Linked DNA regions of Homo sapiens: all the other regions are linked to region 1. Evidence: promoter capture Hi-C in human tissues and cell types (Jung and others, 2019). All regions are on one chromosome and are shown on one strand. Each heading gives the region's core, a stretch centred on a gene start or on the middle of the fragment in contact. The rest is flanking DNA. Distances are from core to core; before and after follow the strand shown. Region 1 holds the start of PRMT2 (protein arginine methyltransferase 2). Region 2 overlaps PCNT (pericentrin). Region 3 overlaps PCNT (pericentrin).

Region 1 (4,991 bases), core at 357-2,856:
AAAATATGCTTGCTTTGCCAGTTCACGTACCAAAAATGGAACCCTAAATGATGCTGATGTTTTGGGGCTAAGTATTTCCTTAGAATTGTTATGGTGCCCAATGCAGGATGTCACCTTACAGGCACTGCGTTTCCTCTGCCTCACAATCTTCACATTTAAGCATTCTACTGCCGGTGGCCACCTTCCAAGGCACAAGCCAAGCTCCATCACATCTGTGAGCTGACGCTTAGCTCTCTGTAATGCTCACATTCATTAAACACAGATTTTTAGGAAGTGGAACGGAAATTACCTGCGATTCACTTCTGGGACAGTCACCTGATGTTGCCATAGTTCTCTTAGGCTCTGCCTCATAACTGCTGATTTATTTCATTTTCTTTTCCATTTCTACTTTTAAAAAGAGAAGGAGACACAAAGTACTTGTTACATTGCTTAATAATTGAGTTCACTTAACTTCTAATGTGCATGATGTCCTCTACCAAATAGAAGTAAAATGTGTATGTGTGAAGATTAGTGTAGAAATGAAAATTTACAATACTTTACAGAGACAAAAGCATTTAAAAATCATAAACTTCAAATAGTGTGTTTTCTTCACTAGTCTGCAAGGTGTTAATCTTGTTCATTTGCTGAAGCCTGTTAGTTTCTGTTAGATCAGGTGTCGACTTAAGGCAATAAATCAGTATTCATTAATTTCTTAGAAGTGTGATAGCTTTAATTCCAATTAAAAGTCCCTACCTGGGACCTTACAGTGTTTCCACTAACAGGAACCAAGGTCTGCATCTTCCAGTCTTTTCCTTCTTCTCAATTCGTATTTTTCCAGTGATAGTGTAATCCACACACTGCTCTGGGATCAATGTGTTTTTAAAATTGCATAGCAATTCTTTGTTTAAAATGCATGCTTCACTTCTAAATCCAGACTTGAAGCTTATTTTTGTGATATTCGTAGTTACAAATGCTTACTGATTTGCATAATTATATTTTCATTGGAAGACCTGGGTCCAAACTGGGACGGGGTCGGAGTGGAGGCCGCAGTGCGCGCAGGACCCTGCCCTCCTAAGATGCCCTCGGGAGGAACAGGATCATGGAGGGTTGGAACAGGTGGCCAGTGAAGGGGGGTGAGAAGGGGGCAGGAAGCGAGAGGGCCACGCGTGGACGCAGGGGCACGAGAGGGTCAGGCTGGGACAGCGCCGCGAGCTTCGGGGCAGGGGCCGCCAGGCAGGTGGGCGTGGCCGCGAAGGGCGTGACAGAGATGGTGGTGGGGTGGGCGTGGCCGTAGAAGGCGCTGGACGGCGGGAGTGGCCGGGAAGGGGTGCGGCACGCAGGGAAGGGTGTGACGGGGACCGAGCTCCCGTTTGGACGCCAGGGAAAGTGGCTGAGATCGCGAAGGCGCTCGGAGGTCCCAAAAGGGGGCGGAGGCCTCTGTCCGCCAGCGACGCACACGCAGTGCGAGGACGCCTCACCTGGCCTGTCCTTCCTTACGTGCAGTCCAGCCATCTGAGCTGCCCATCAGGACACCTACCTCAATCGCGTTTCTCCGCTGAGTTCCGCGTCCACACCGCCAGCGCGGAGGGGTGGACGGTCCTTTCCAGGAGCCTGAGCCACCGCCCTCAACCCGCGCAAGCGCAGTGCACGCAGGCCGTCAGCCGGGAAGGCCCCGCCCAGGGCCCGGCGCCCCGCGCAGGCGCAGTCCTAAGACGTCCCCCATTCCAGGGAAGCCAAGCCACCGCCCTCGACTTGCGCCGGCGCGTCGCTCACAGATCGTCTGCAGCTGGGGCTGCGCCCCGCGCAGGCGCACTTCACATCTGCGCGTCCCGCGGTCTTGCGAGGCGAGGCCAGGTTCTCCATGTGTGGAGCTCGTCCCCAATCGCCCAGCCCAGCCGCGGGGTTGGGGGGCTCGGCTTGGGGTCCGACCCAGAGGGGCGCGGGGCAGGAGTCCGACCTGGGGCGGGGGGCGGGTTTGGGCCATTCACGGCTTGGGAAGCGACAACCCCTACGAGCCACAAAATGGCTGGGGCTTGGGGGACCCCCCACCTCCTCTGTCTTCCCGCAAATAATTCAGTTAACTTTCCCATCCGCGCTGCGCAGTGTGCGCCCTCTGCCTTTCTTCTGGATAAGTGGAAGCAGAATGATGACGTTTCTGTTGTGGGGAGAGGAAGTTTGGGGTTAAGGAGAAATGGGTGGCGCTAATGCCTGTAAAACATAAAATTCGAAGCCCCCCCTCCCCCGCAGCCGTCTGACTGGACTCCCTCCTTTACCAGGGGACCCTGAAGTTCAACCTGAGAGACTATTCTGGCCTCGAAGGGAAGTAAGAGTTGGACATGCCTTTTTACACTCCTCCAGCATTAACATCAAGGCAGACCTTAAGTCTGATTTAAAAAAAAAAATGTGGAAGGAAAATAAATTTGGGGGCCGCAAAATCATTAAGCTTAAAAGGAAAAGTCAAGTTGGGAACTGCTTAGGGCAAACCTGCCTCCCATTCTGTTCAAAGTCATCTCTCAGCTCACTGAGATAAATGCGTATCTGATTGCCACCTCTGGAGAGGCTAACCAGAAACTCAAGGGAATGCAATGATTTGTCTCATATTTACCTATGACCTGGAAGCTCCCTCCTGCCTTTGCTTTGAGTTGTCCCGCCCTTCCGGACCAAACCAATGTTCATCTTACATATATTGATTGATGTCTCATGTCTCCCTAAAACGTATAAAACCAAACTGTGCTCTGACCACCTTGGGCACATGTCATCAGGGCCTCCGACGGCCGTGTCATGGGCGTGCATCCTTAAATTCAGCAAAATAAACTTCCTAAGTTGACTGAGATCTGACTCAGATATTCAAGGTTCACATTTTGGTAACCACAAAGGGATTCTGAGTAGAGGTGCCACTGACCTTTGACAAATCTGTCAGTCCTTAGTACCAGCTTGAGCTATCTTTATGGCTCAAACCAATAGGACAATTTGCTGAGGCCTGGAAGCACCCCCTCCAGAGAATCCCTGATCTACCCAGATTTAGTCAAGATCTAGTTTATTTTGCTGTACAACTCCTTTTGTGTGTTGGGCGGGGGTTGGGGGGCGGGGTGTGCTTTACTCTCTTCCAACATAAGGAAGTAGTAGTTTTTTCCTGCTTCCATGACAATGGAAGGCAGGTAACTCGTTTATGGAGTTTGAGCTCGCTTCCCACAGGAAAGATGAGGGGTTTTCTTCCTCTGCTTCTAGGGTGGTAGAGAGCAATCTTCAGCCTCAGACCCATCCCTAGGAAGTAACTGAATTGGGGTTTGTCTTGGCTATTAAGATTAACAACCAGCTGGTCTTAATTTCTCCTTACCATTAGTGTGCTCAGTAACCTTATAAATTGCCCAATCCTTCGTTTCGCTTAACTGGTTTTTTTGTTGTTGTTTCTGTTTTTTGTTCTTTTGTCTTTTTCGCATTGAGTTTGACGAACTCTATCTGACTTGATCGAAACCAAAGGAAAGTTCCAAATTATGAGAAGTGAGGCCTCTGAAGTGGCTAAGTTTCAACCCCTCCCCACCACACACACACACACAAAAGGTGATGTGGTGGGGGGAGAAAAACAGCTAGCAAAAGGAAAAAGAAAAAAAAAATTTATTTTGACTACTTAAAGGGCTTTTCTTACATAACAAGGCCACATTTTTGCTAGCCAGACCAACCAAAAAGAGTAATGTCTGTCACCCCACACTGCAGTTCCATACCTAAGGGTTCTGCCTTCTTTTTTTCCACCACCACAGCCTGGGTTTAGTTCCTAAATTAAGCCCTTTCTGGTTTGATACTTGGTACTTCTGAAATAGCAGCAATTAGTCCTAGCTGAAATATGATAATGAGATTTATTTATTTATTTAGACAGAGTCTGGCTCTGTGTTCCAGGCTGGGGTGCAGTGGCACAATCTCAGCTCACTGCAACCTCCACCTCCCAGGTTCAAGTGATTCCCATGCCTTAGCCTCCTGAGTAGCTGGCATTATAGGCCTGCACCACCACACCCAGCTCATTTTTGTATTTTTTTGGTAGAGATGGGGTTTCACCATGTTGGCCAGGCTGGTCTCAAACTGGCCTCAAGTGATCCGCCTACCTCGGCCTCCCAAAGTGTTGGGATTACAGGCATGAGCCACCATGCCCAGCCAGTAATGAGATTGAAAAAGTTTATTTTTAAGGAGCTCAATGGTTAAAAGCTTAATTAAAAGCTAACATCCAACATATGTGTGTTGTGTGCCTGTGTGTGTGTGTTTGTATTTAAAAGGCTTCCAGTTTTGTTTTTTTTGTTTTTTTCTCTCCTAGGACCTTGTCTTTTTGAGCAAAAGTTTTTTTCTTCTTAGTTGACTGGCTTCTGTTTTCTTCATTTACTTTTGTCGTGTCTTCTTTCTCTTGCACCCTCTGCTTCATGGGAAACCTAATATAGTTTGTAATACCCAGGGTTCCTTACAGAAAACGGAGAAGGTGCCAGATTCCCCTTGGAGGAGAAACCTCTGTTTCCTTATGGAACCCCAAATGTGTAAACAGACAAGTTCATCTCAGCTTTTTTTTTTTTTCATCTCAGCTCTTAAACTGCTTGCTTTTGTATTGTGTTACCTAATTTTTTTACTAAAATAGTTACTGCAACAGAGGCTACTCTGGAGTTCTTAAGGAATAGTATAGTTTAGACATGTAGAAATGTCTTTGTTGAAAAAAGTTTTTTAAGTGCACTGTAAAAGCATGATGTAGTCTAACCTCATAATAATTTTCGCTTTTTGGAGACCCAGGATTCAGTGTAGGGTCTGCCCAGAGCTCAGAGATCCAGTTAAAATATAGGGAGTCTCTGTCTAAATAAAACTGGTCTCCTTATACAATCCTATGATAGATTTTCATAATTTTATGTTTGATTTCACATCCATTTTTAATCTCTCTTTAGCACCACCAGACTTTTTCCTCTCTGTACCTTAAAATGTAAATTTTGCTATCTAATTTTTCATCTAATAGTTTCCTTTAATATGCAGATTTAGGGCTATTT
Region 2 (4,991 bases), core at 1,352-3,851, 250 kb after region 1:
TTTAGTAGAGATGGGGTTTCACCATGTTAGCCAGGATGGTCTCGATCTCCTGACCTCATGATCCACCCGCCTCAGCCTCCCAAAGTGCTGGGATTACAAGCGTGAGCCACTGCGCCCGGCTGGGATGCTTCTGTTTTTACACACAGGGGCTCCCGAGGCCACAGGCCCCTCCACATCTCGCTCCCTGCACTATGATTTAGGAGCTGTGACGCCGCTGAGGACAGGCACGTTGACCCAGTGACTACACAGCCAGCCCTCCCTCTACTCTGCTCACAGCTCTGTCCCCAGAGAGCCCAACCCTGAGGAGCAGACGATGAGGACTCATTCGTGGGGACCGTGAGGTGACAACGGGAGGCAGTGTCGTGCAGGCCCCGCGAAACCGAAGATTCTGGGCAAATAACAGGGAGGGGGAGTCCTGAGGAGGGGCTTGACGGAGAGAATGCCACCTGCTCCCCAGCACACTTCCACCCCCCAAAATGCCCAACTCCTGCAGGCATCAGGGCGTCTGCAGCCACCCCACCTCAAGACAGGCAGCCTCTCCAGTGTCCAGGGACCGTGGGCTCACCTCTGCACCCCTTGTGTTTAGAGCCTGGGACTACCCCGCCCACCACCCACCTCTGCACCCCTCGAGTTAAGAGCACAGACCGCCCCACTGGCCGCTGTGCCCCTCGGTTTAGAGCTCTCGCTCGCCCACTGACCTGGGTGACTGGAGAGAGTCAGCACCAAGCTACGAGACACCCACAGCCAAGTGCTACAGAAGGCAAGGTCCTCACAGAAAAATCACAAAACTTGATGAAAAGAACAAAGAGAGACCTGCACAGACACCCCCCACACACGGATGGACCCTCAGCATGACAGACACCAATGCTCCAGAAACAGCTGTGAGCTCAGAGGGTCCCATAAGCCCGACCTGGTCTCCGGACCCTGGGTGGTCTCCAGAGCAGAGCCAAACCAGTTCAGAGCTTCAGGACACAGCAGCACAACCCAGAGGCCTCGAGTGGGGACACAAAGACGGGAGCAGCAGCAGGACTCAGAGGCCTGGGGCGGGGACAGACAGACGGGAGCAGTGGCTGGACCCAGAAGCCTCAGCGGGGACACACAGATGGGAGCAGCAGCAGGACACAGAGGCCTCGGGCGGGGACACGCCAATGGGAGCAGCCAAAGACCCACACAAGGGGACGGGGAGGACGCGCACCAAGGGGAGGCTGCGTTTGGCAACACAGTGCCGAGTCCACTGCCCAGACAGGTGCAAGCAAGAACAACTCTGCAGGCTCACCCCAGAGTCACACAAAAGCAAAACTTAAAACCCTGTGAGGTGACCTGGGAAAAACCTCCATGGTGTCAGAGGAGCAAAAAGTTTCTCAAGACCCCACACGCGACAAAAGGGCAGACAAGCCTGCTGGACAGCATCACTGCAGGTGAGGAGGCACCAAGGCAGGATGTGGCCTGGACCCATGCGTTCAGGGAAGGCGGCCCCACGGCCCGTGGTAAGCAGACCCACACCCCGCCCTGGGAGAGCCCTCGGGGCTGGGCGCTCAGCCCAGTGCCTGCAGCTACCCAGGCACAGGCTCCCAATGGAGAAAGGAACGGACAGGGCTACGGCCCCTGCTTGGGCCGGTCTCAGAAACACACGTCACAGAGAGAGATGCATGAGGCACGACACTTGCACACAGTCCAAAGCACAGGAACCACGAGACATGTGGGCCTGCACCCCGTGCCGGGGACGAGGACACGCTGCGGGGACGCAGACACTAAAGGGGAGGGGTCGGGCTCTGTGTGGGAGATAACGGCTGGTTTTAATCTGGCCAGATGGGGAAATGAGACACAGCAGGCAGGGTGGGAGGAGGGCACGGGGGCTGGGAGATGAGACACAGCAGGCGATTTCTTCCCGGTGCTTACAATCTTTCTAACTGAGAGAAGAAGGAAGCCGGGTCCCCGTCCACCAGGAGCCAGCGTGCATGGTGGCAGCAGCCACGGGGCCAGGAGCCGTGGGGACCAATGGCATCTGCATGACCCAGCGGGTGCTGGCGGCCACAAGGCAGCCTCGGTGCCGAGGACACACTGACCTTTCGCTGTGGGACAGGTTGACGTCGGCCTTGAGCATGGAGAGGAGGTTTGCGCCTTCCCGGTTCTCCCGCTCCCGCCTCTGCTGCAGCACCTCCAACTCGGAGCGGCACTCTTCTATCTCGTGACTTAAGGATAAAACCTGGTCTTTCAGCTATCGAGAAAAATGGTTAAAGCTTTCGTTAAAACAATTTGGTTAAAAGCAAATGGCTGTAAGGGACTTTCAACACAATTTCAGTATTTGAGAGTCTCTGACTTAGGACTTTTCAGCTTGGTGATGGGGCAAAAGGAGCAGGCACTTCGGCACGTTCCTCGACTCACAACGCCTTCCACTGACAGTGGTCAAAGGCGTGACCTCAGCAAAGGCCAAGGAGCACCTGCACATTTAATAAAAATACGGCAAAGGTGAACGAGGTGCTGATTAAAGGTGAAAATTATTGATACGGTTTTTCCTCCATTATTCATCATTTACAAAAGAATACACAAACATCCCCAGGTGGAACCTGAGGCTAGGGGAGGGAAGGGGCCAGTTCATCAGAGATCCACCACTCAAACAGCAATTCGAAATAAGTCACTGTATCTGGTCATTCACAAAAGTCAGTTGCCAGGCAGGCAAAGATCTTTCTTTCTGAGACAGGGTCTCACTCTGTTGCCCAGGCTGGAGTGCAGTGGCACAATCACAGCTCACTGTAGCCTCAAACTCCAGGGCACAAACAATCCTCCCACCTCAGCTTTCTGAGAAGCTGGGACTACAGGTGCGTGCCACCACACACGGCTAATTTTTTTAATTTTTTATAGAGACAGGGTCTCCCTATGTTGCCCAGGCTGGTATCGAATTCCTGGGCTGGAGTGGTCCTCCTGCCTCAGCCTCCCGAAGTGCTGGGATTAAAGGTGTGAGCCATGGTGCCAGGGGAGGGCAAATGGGGAGTGAGAGTCTAATGGGGACAGAGTTCAGTTTTGCAAGATGAAGACTTCTGGAGATGGATGGTGGTGATGGCTGCACAATACTGTGAATGTGATTCCATCACCGAATGTACAACACCGTGAATGTGCCTGCACCACTGAACTACGCACAACACCATGAATGCACTTGCACCACTGAACTATGCACAACACTGTGAATGCACTTCTGCCACTGAACGCACAACACCGTGAATGCGCTTCCGCCGCTCAACGCACAACACCATGAATGCACTTCCGCCACTGAACTACGCACAACACCGTGAATGCGCTTCCGCCGCTCAACGCACAACACCATGAATGTGTTTCCGCCGCTCAACGCACAACACCGTGAATGCGCTTCTGCCACTGAACTATGCACAATACCGTGAATGCACTTCCGCCCCTGAATGCACACCACGAATGCACTTCTGCCACTGAATGTACAGCACTGTGAATGGGCTTCCACCACTGAATGCACAACACCGTGAATGGGCTTCCGCCACTGAACGCACAACACCGTGAATGCTCTTCCGTCACTGAATGTACAACACCGTGAATGCGCTTCTGCCACTGAATGCACAACACCGTGAATGCGCTTCCATCACTGAATATACAACATGGTGAATGCGCTTCCGCTGCTGAATGCACAACACCGTGAATGCGCTTCCGTCACTGAATATACAACACTGTGAATGCGCTTCCGCCACTGAATGCACAACACCGTGAATGGGCTTCCGCCACTGAATGCACAGCACTGTGAATGCGCTTCCGCCACTGAATATACAACACTGTGAATGCGCTTCCGCCACTGAACGCACAACACCGTGAATGCGCTTCTGCCACTGAACGCACAACACCGTGAATGCGCTTCCGCTGCTGAATGCACAGCACTGTGAATGTGCTTCCATCACTGAATATACAACACTGTGAATGCGCTTCCGCCACTGAATATACAACACTGTGAATGCGCTTCCGCTGCTGAATGCACAGCACTGTGAATGTGCTTCCATCACTGAATATACAACACTGTGAATGCGCTTCCGCCACTGAATATACAACATGGTGAATGCGCTTCCGCCACTGAATATACAACACTGTGAATGCGCTTCTGCCACTGAACGCACAACACTGTGAATGCGCTTCTGCCACTGAATGCACAACACCGTGAATGCGCTTCCGTCACTGAATATACAACATGGTGAATGCGCTTCCGCCACTGAACGCACAACACCGTGAATGCGCTTCTGCCACTGAACGCACAACACCGTGAATGCGCTTCCGCTGCTGAATGCACAGCACTGTGAATGCGCTTCCATCACTGAATATACAACACTGTGAATGCGCTTCCGCCACTGAATACACAACACTGTGAATGCGCTTCCGCCACTGAATGCACAACACCGTGAATGCGCTTCTGCCACTGAACGCACACCATGAATGCGCTTCCGCTGCTGAATGCACAGCACTGTGAATGCACTTCCATCACTGAATATACAACACTGTGAATGCGCTTCCGCCACTGAATATACAACATGGTGAATGCGCTTCCGCCACTGAATATACAACACTGTGAATGCGCTTCTGCCACTGAACGCACAACACCGTGAATGCGCTTCTGCCACTGAATGCACAACACCGTGAATGCGCTTCCGTCACTGAATATACAACATGGTGAATGCGCTTCCGCCACTGAATGCACACCGTGAATGTGCTTCTGCCACTGAACGCACAACACCGTGAATGCGCTTCCGCTGCTGAATGCACAGCACTGTGAATGCGCTTCCATCACTGAATATACAACACTGTGAATGCGCTTCCGCCACTGAATATACAACATGGTGAATGTGCTTCCGCCACTGAATATACAACACTGTGAATGCGCTTCCGCCACTGAATGCACAACACCGTGAATGGGCTTCCACCACTGAATGCACAGCACTGTGAATGCGCTTCCGCCACTGAATATACAACACTGTGAATGCGCT
Region 3 (4,991 bases), core at 1,306-3,805, 230 kb after region 1:
ATGAGATTGTGGTGATTATTACAGGACTAAATCCTTTTTTCAAAATTTATAAAACTGTATACTAAAAAAAACTAATTTTACTATGCACGAAGTCTAAAAACAAAAAACTTAAATTGTTATACTGAAAAATAAGTATCTATAATCAATGACCTAAGGTTCTATCTGAAAAAGCTAGAAAAAGAAGAGAAAATAAACCCAAGGTAAATAGAAGGAAGCCAATAATGAAAATAAGAGGAGAAATCAAAGAAATAAAGAGAGAAAAGTATCAGAGCCAAAAGCTGATTCTTTGAAAACACTGACAACATGGATAAACTACTAGCTAGACAGACTCAAGAATAAAAGAGAAAACACGAACTCACTAATATCAGGAATAAAAGGAGGGCCATCAGCATAAAACCTGCAGATATTCAATGGCAAGTAAGGAAATGGTTAATAAGGTGAACAGTTACAAAATGAGAAAGTATAGACTGGGCGCGGTGGCTCACGCCTGTAATCCCAGCACTTTGGGAGGCCGAGTCGGGCGGATCACGAGGTCAGGAGATCGAGACCATCCTGGCTAACACGGTGAAACCCCGTCTGTGCTAAAAATACAAAAATAATTAGCCGGGCCTGGTGGCAGGCGCCTGTAGTCCCAGCTACTCGGGAGGCTGAGGCAGGAGACTCACTTGAACCCGGGAGGCGGAGGTTGCAGGGAGCCGAGATCGCGCCATTGCACTCCAGCCTGGGTGACGGAGCAAGACTCCGTCTCAAAAAAAAAAAAAAAAAAAGAGAAAGTATAAACTTCTTTATGCAAAGAAATTTGACAATTTTGATGACATGCACAAGTTCCTTGAAAAATACAACTTATCACAACATGAAACAGAAATCCAAATACCTCAGTCTGTTAAAGAAAATTAATTACCATCAATCTCTCTAGATATAAAACTCCAAATGGCTTCATTGTTGATGCTATGAAAACATTCAAAGAAGAAATCCCAGCTATGTTAAATAACCTCTTTCAGAAAAGAAAGTGAAAAAATTCCCAATCTATTTTATGAGACTAACATAACCTTCATACAAAGCCTTAGGGAACACTGCAAGAAAAGACAATTATGCACCAACATCCCTCATGAACACAGATGCAAAAACCATTAACAAAATATTAGCAAATCAAATTCAGTAATATCTGTAACATATGAAAAGGGCAGTACATCACTACCAGGTATGGTTTATCCTAGAACCGCAAGGTTAGTTTAATCTCCAAGAAATAAATCACTCAATAAAGTTAACCTTATTAGTAGAATAAAAGAGAAAAATATCATCACTATTTCAATAGATCCAGAAAAAGCAAACTAGAAATATAACAGAACTTCCTTGATCTGATAAAAAGGCACCTGTGAAAAACCTAAAGCTAATATACTTAATGGCAAAACACTGACCACTTCCCTGTAAGACAAGGAGCTGGGCAAAGATGACTGCCCTAGCCAGTTTTAACTTTGTACTGGGAGTGCTAGACATTGTAATAAAAGAAGGAAATAACAAAAATTGGAAAGAAATAAAACTGTCTTTATCTGAAGATGATGTTATCTTATACATAAAAAGCCTTCAGGAATCCACAAAACGCTACTAATATACATAAATTGTGCAAGGTAACAGCAAGGTTAACATACAAAAGGTGTATGTGTATTCACGGTAAACAACTAGATAATTATTTTAAATCTCACTTACAATAGTGCAAAAAACCTAAAATATTTAAGGATAAATTTAACAAAAGACGTGAGACCTCTTTATTAAAACCTGTAGAATAAGGGAGAAGTAAATGGTAAAATTAAAGAAACATCACTAACCCCAGAGTTAGAATAAGCCACACAGGGAGGGAGGGCCCACATTGAGGATGAGGTGTTAGGATGGCTGGAGCCCCGGAGGACGGCAGTACAGAACAAGTGACAACAACCACGACCACGCCAGGGAGACGGGAGCTCCGTTTCCCCACAAGTGTAAAAGACGCTTCTAGAAGACAAACATCTTCACTGACATAAAATAGGGTAGAATACAGCAAATGTGGTTTCCTTGAAATAACTGGAAACCTAACAAGAGTCAAACCTTTAAATGGAATTTTACTTTTCTTTATTATATAAAGCAAAATAGCATCCGCATCTTTACAAAAAATTAGGAGAATTACAGAAAATGAAGGATGTACGAATTTGCACATATCTGTAAGAAAAATCCCACAAGAAAATATTGGGGATTGTCCTTAAAAAGCTTTCAATTCTTAATGGAACAAAAATACTGTCCTTAACATGTAAACTATTTTTTATATATTTTTCATTATATAAGATTATAGTTAGAGGTCAAGTTCTAGAGCACTATAGACAAATAATACAACTTCTTCTGAAAAGTAATCAATGGTTTTTAAAGGCATTCTTTTTTTTTTGAGACGAGTCTTGCTCTGTCGCCCAGGCTGCAGTGCAGTGGCGCAATCTCGGCTCACTGCCAACCTCCACCTTCTGGGTTCAAGTGATTCTTCTGCCTCAGCCTCCCAAGTAACCATTAGAGGCACCGGCCACCAGGCCCAGCTAACTTTTGTGTTTTTAGTAGAGACGGGGTTTCACCATGTTGGCCAGGCTGGTCTCGAACTCCTGAGCTCAAGTGATCTGCCCGCCTGGGCCTCCCAAAGTGCTGGGATTACAGGCGTGAGCCACCGCTCCTGGCCATAAAAGGCATTCTTCAATGTAACCCAAAAGGCTATTTTTAAATTTTTGCCAAATATACAAGATACAATCAGATACTAAGACAGATAACATCTCAGTAGCCTCTGTCAAAGGGAAATTAAAAGTGACAAACTGGAGACAAACTTCTCCTTACTTCTATGGTCCCCTCCAAAATTATTTTTTTTTAGGCAGGGTCCTGTTCTGTCATTACAGCTGGATTACAGTGGCATGATCACAGCTCACTGTGGCCTTGGCCTCCCAGGCTCAAGTGATCTTCCTATCTCATCCTTCAGAGTAGCTGGTACTATAGGTGTATGCCTGGCTAAATTTTTTAAAAAAATTTGTAGAGATGGGTCTCATTACGTTGTCCAGGCTGATCTCGAATTCCTGGGCTCAAACGATCCTCCCACCTCAGGTTCCCAAACTCCTGGGATTACAGGTGTGAGAGCCACTGTGCCCGGCCATAAAGTTAATTTTGTTTTTGAGACAGGGTCTTGCTTTGTTGCCCAGGCTGGAGTGCAGTGGCACAATCACAGCTCACTGCATCCTCCATCTCCTGGGTTCAAGTGATTCTCCTGCCTCAGTCTCCGGAGTGGTGTGTCACCATGCCTGGCTAATTTTTGTATTTTTAGTAGAGATGGGGTTTTCCCATGTTGTTTAGGCTGGTCTCGAACTCCTGAGCTCAAGTAACCCACCCTCCTCAGTCTCCCAAAGTGCTGAGAATACAGGCGTTTGAGCCACCGTGCCCAACTGATAAAATTAATTTTGAAAAGTATTATAAATATTGTATGAGGAAACAGAAGACTGTCATCCTGGAAAGCCAAGGCCCCAGTCAATCACACCCAGAAACTATGAGGACTTCGTACAGGAGACGCAGGCGTAGCCAGAAGCGTGAGAAGAGCCCCTTCTCCCCCAGCACCAGGGAGTGGCGTACCTCGCCGAGGTAAACCTGCGGTGCCTAGAGCTGCTCGTTCACACGCACTATCTCCTCTTCTTTGTTGGGCAGAAATGCCGGTGGAAATGGTAATAACAACAACCATATCAAAACAGAGCCGACAGAACCTTAATAGGGAAATATTCCACTGACCCTACAGATATGAAATGTCCTAATTAAATAAGCCTACAGTTTTAAATTGGAAAAATGGAAAATCAATTTGAAAATTTTTTTTGTTGTTATTGTTGTTGTTTTTTGAGACTCTCCCACGCTGTGTTCACTCAGGGAGCATTCCCACGCTGTGTTCATTCACCGAGCACGCGCCACGTGGGCACCACACACACACAATTCTCCCACGCTATGTTCATTCACCGAGCACGCGCCGCGTGGGCACCACACACACAATTCTCCCACGCTGTGTTCATTCACCGAGCACGCGCCACGTGGGCACCACACACACACAATTCTCCCACGCTGTGTTCATTCACCGAGCACGCGCCGCGTGGGCACCACACACACAATTCTCCCACGCTGTGTTCATTCACCGAGCACGCGCCGCGTGGGCACCACACACACAATTCTCCCACGCTGTGTTCATTCACCGAGCACACGCCGCGTGGGCACCACACATACACGATTCTCCCACGCTGAGTTGATTCACCGAGCACGTGCCGCGTGGGCACCACACACACAATTCTCCCACGCTGTGTTCATTCACCGAGCACGCGCCGCGTGGGCACCAAACACACACTATTCTCCCACGCTGTGTTCATTCACCAAGCACGTGCCGCGTGGGCACCACACACACACGATTCTCCCACGCTGTGTTCATTCACCGAGCATGTGCCACGTGGGCACCACACACACACGATTCTCCCACGCTGTGTTCACTCACCGAGCATGTGCCACGTGGGCACCACACACACACAATTCTCCCACGCTGTGTTCATTCACCGAGCACACGCCGCGTGGGCACCACACACACAATTCTCCCACGCTGTGTTCATTCACCAAGCACGTGCCGCGTGGGCACCACACACACAATTCTCCCACGCTGTGTTCATTCACCAATCACGCGCCGCGTGGGCACCACACACACAATTCTCCCACGCTGTGTTCATTCACCGAGCACGCGCCGCGTGGGCACCACACACACACAATTCTCCCACGCTGTGTTCATTCACCGAGCACGCGCTGCGTGGGCACCACACACACAATTCTCCCACGCTGTGTTCATTCACCGAGCATGCGCCGCGTGGGCACCACACACACACGATTCTCCCACGCTGTGTTCATTCACCGAGCACGCGCCGCGTGGGCACCACACACACTAATTCTCCCACGCTGTGTTCATTCACTGAGCACGT

What was found. The method cuts DNA at HindIII sites, captures the fragments that hold promoters and counts their contacts. A contact is called where the count stands out against the background at its distance.
Region 2: a contact is called between a fragment that was not itself captured here and the fragment with the promoter of PRMT2 in region 1, in 1 of the 25 tissues and cell types used here (lymphoblastoid cells).
Region 3: a contact is called between a fragment that was not itself captured here and the fragment with the promoter of PRMT2 in region 1, in 2 of the 25 tissues and cell types used here (lymphoblastoid cells and mesendoderm cells).

The regions. Positions count from the first base shown.
Region 1 is chr21:46,632,289-46,637,279 of GRCh38, reverse strand. It overlaps PRMT2 (protein arginine methyltransferase 2), which reads right to left and starts at 1,606. Exons shown (of 12, transcript NM_206962.4): 1 at 1,517-1,606; 2 at 733-841; 3 at 290-384. The coding sequence starts at 328. RefSeq lists silencers at 1,188-1,737, 1,848-2,067 and an enhancer at 1,838-2,508. The HindIII fragment of the contact is 3,678 bases long and covers 1-3,299 here.
Region 2 is chr21:46,383,059-46,388,049 of GRCh38, reverse strand. PCNT (pericentrin) reads right to left here. Exons shown (of 47, transcript NM_006031.6): 17 at 2,067-2,218. Among named protein-coding and RNA genes, the nearest start is that of PCNT, 61 kb to the right of the region's middle. RefSeq lists an enhancer at 1,556-2,056. The HindIII fragment of the contact is 4,226 bases long and covers 489-4,714 here.
Region 3 is chr21:46,403,117-46,408,107 of GRCh38, reverse strand. All of the region lies in intron 27 of PCNT (pericentrin), which reads right to left. Among named protein-coding and RNA genes, the nearest start is that of DIP2A, 53 kb to the left of the region's middle. RefSeq lists enhancers at 3,642-4,151, 4,152-4,662. The HindIII fragment of the contact is 7,053 bases long and covers 1-4,991 here.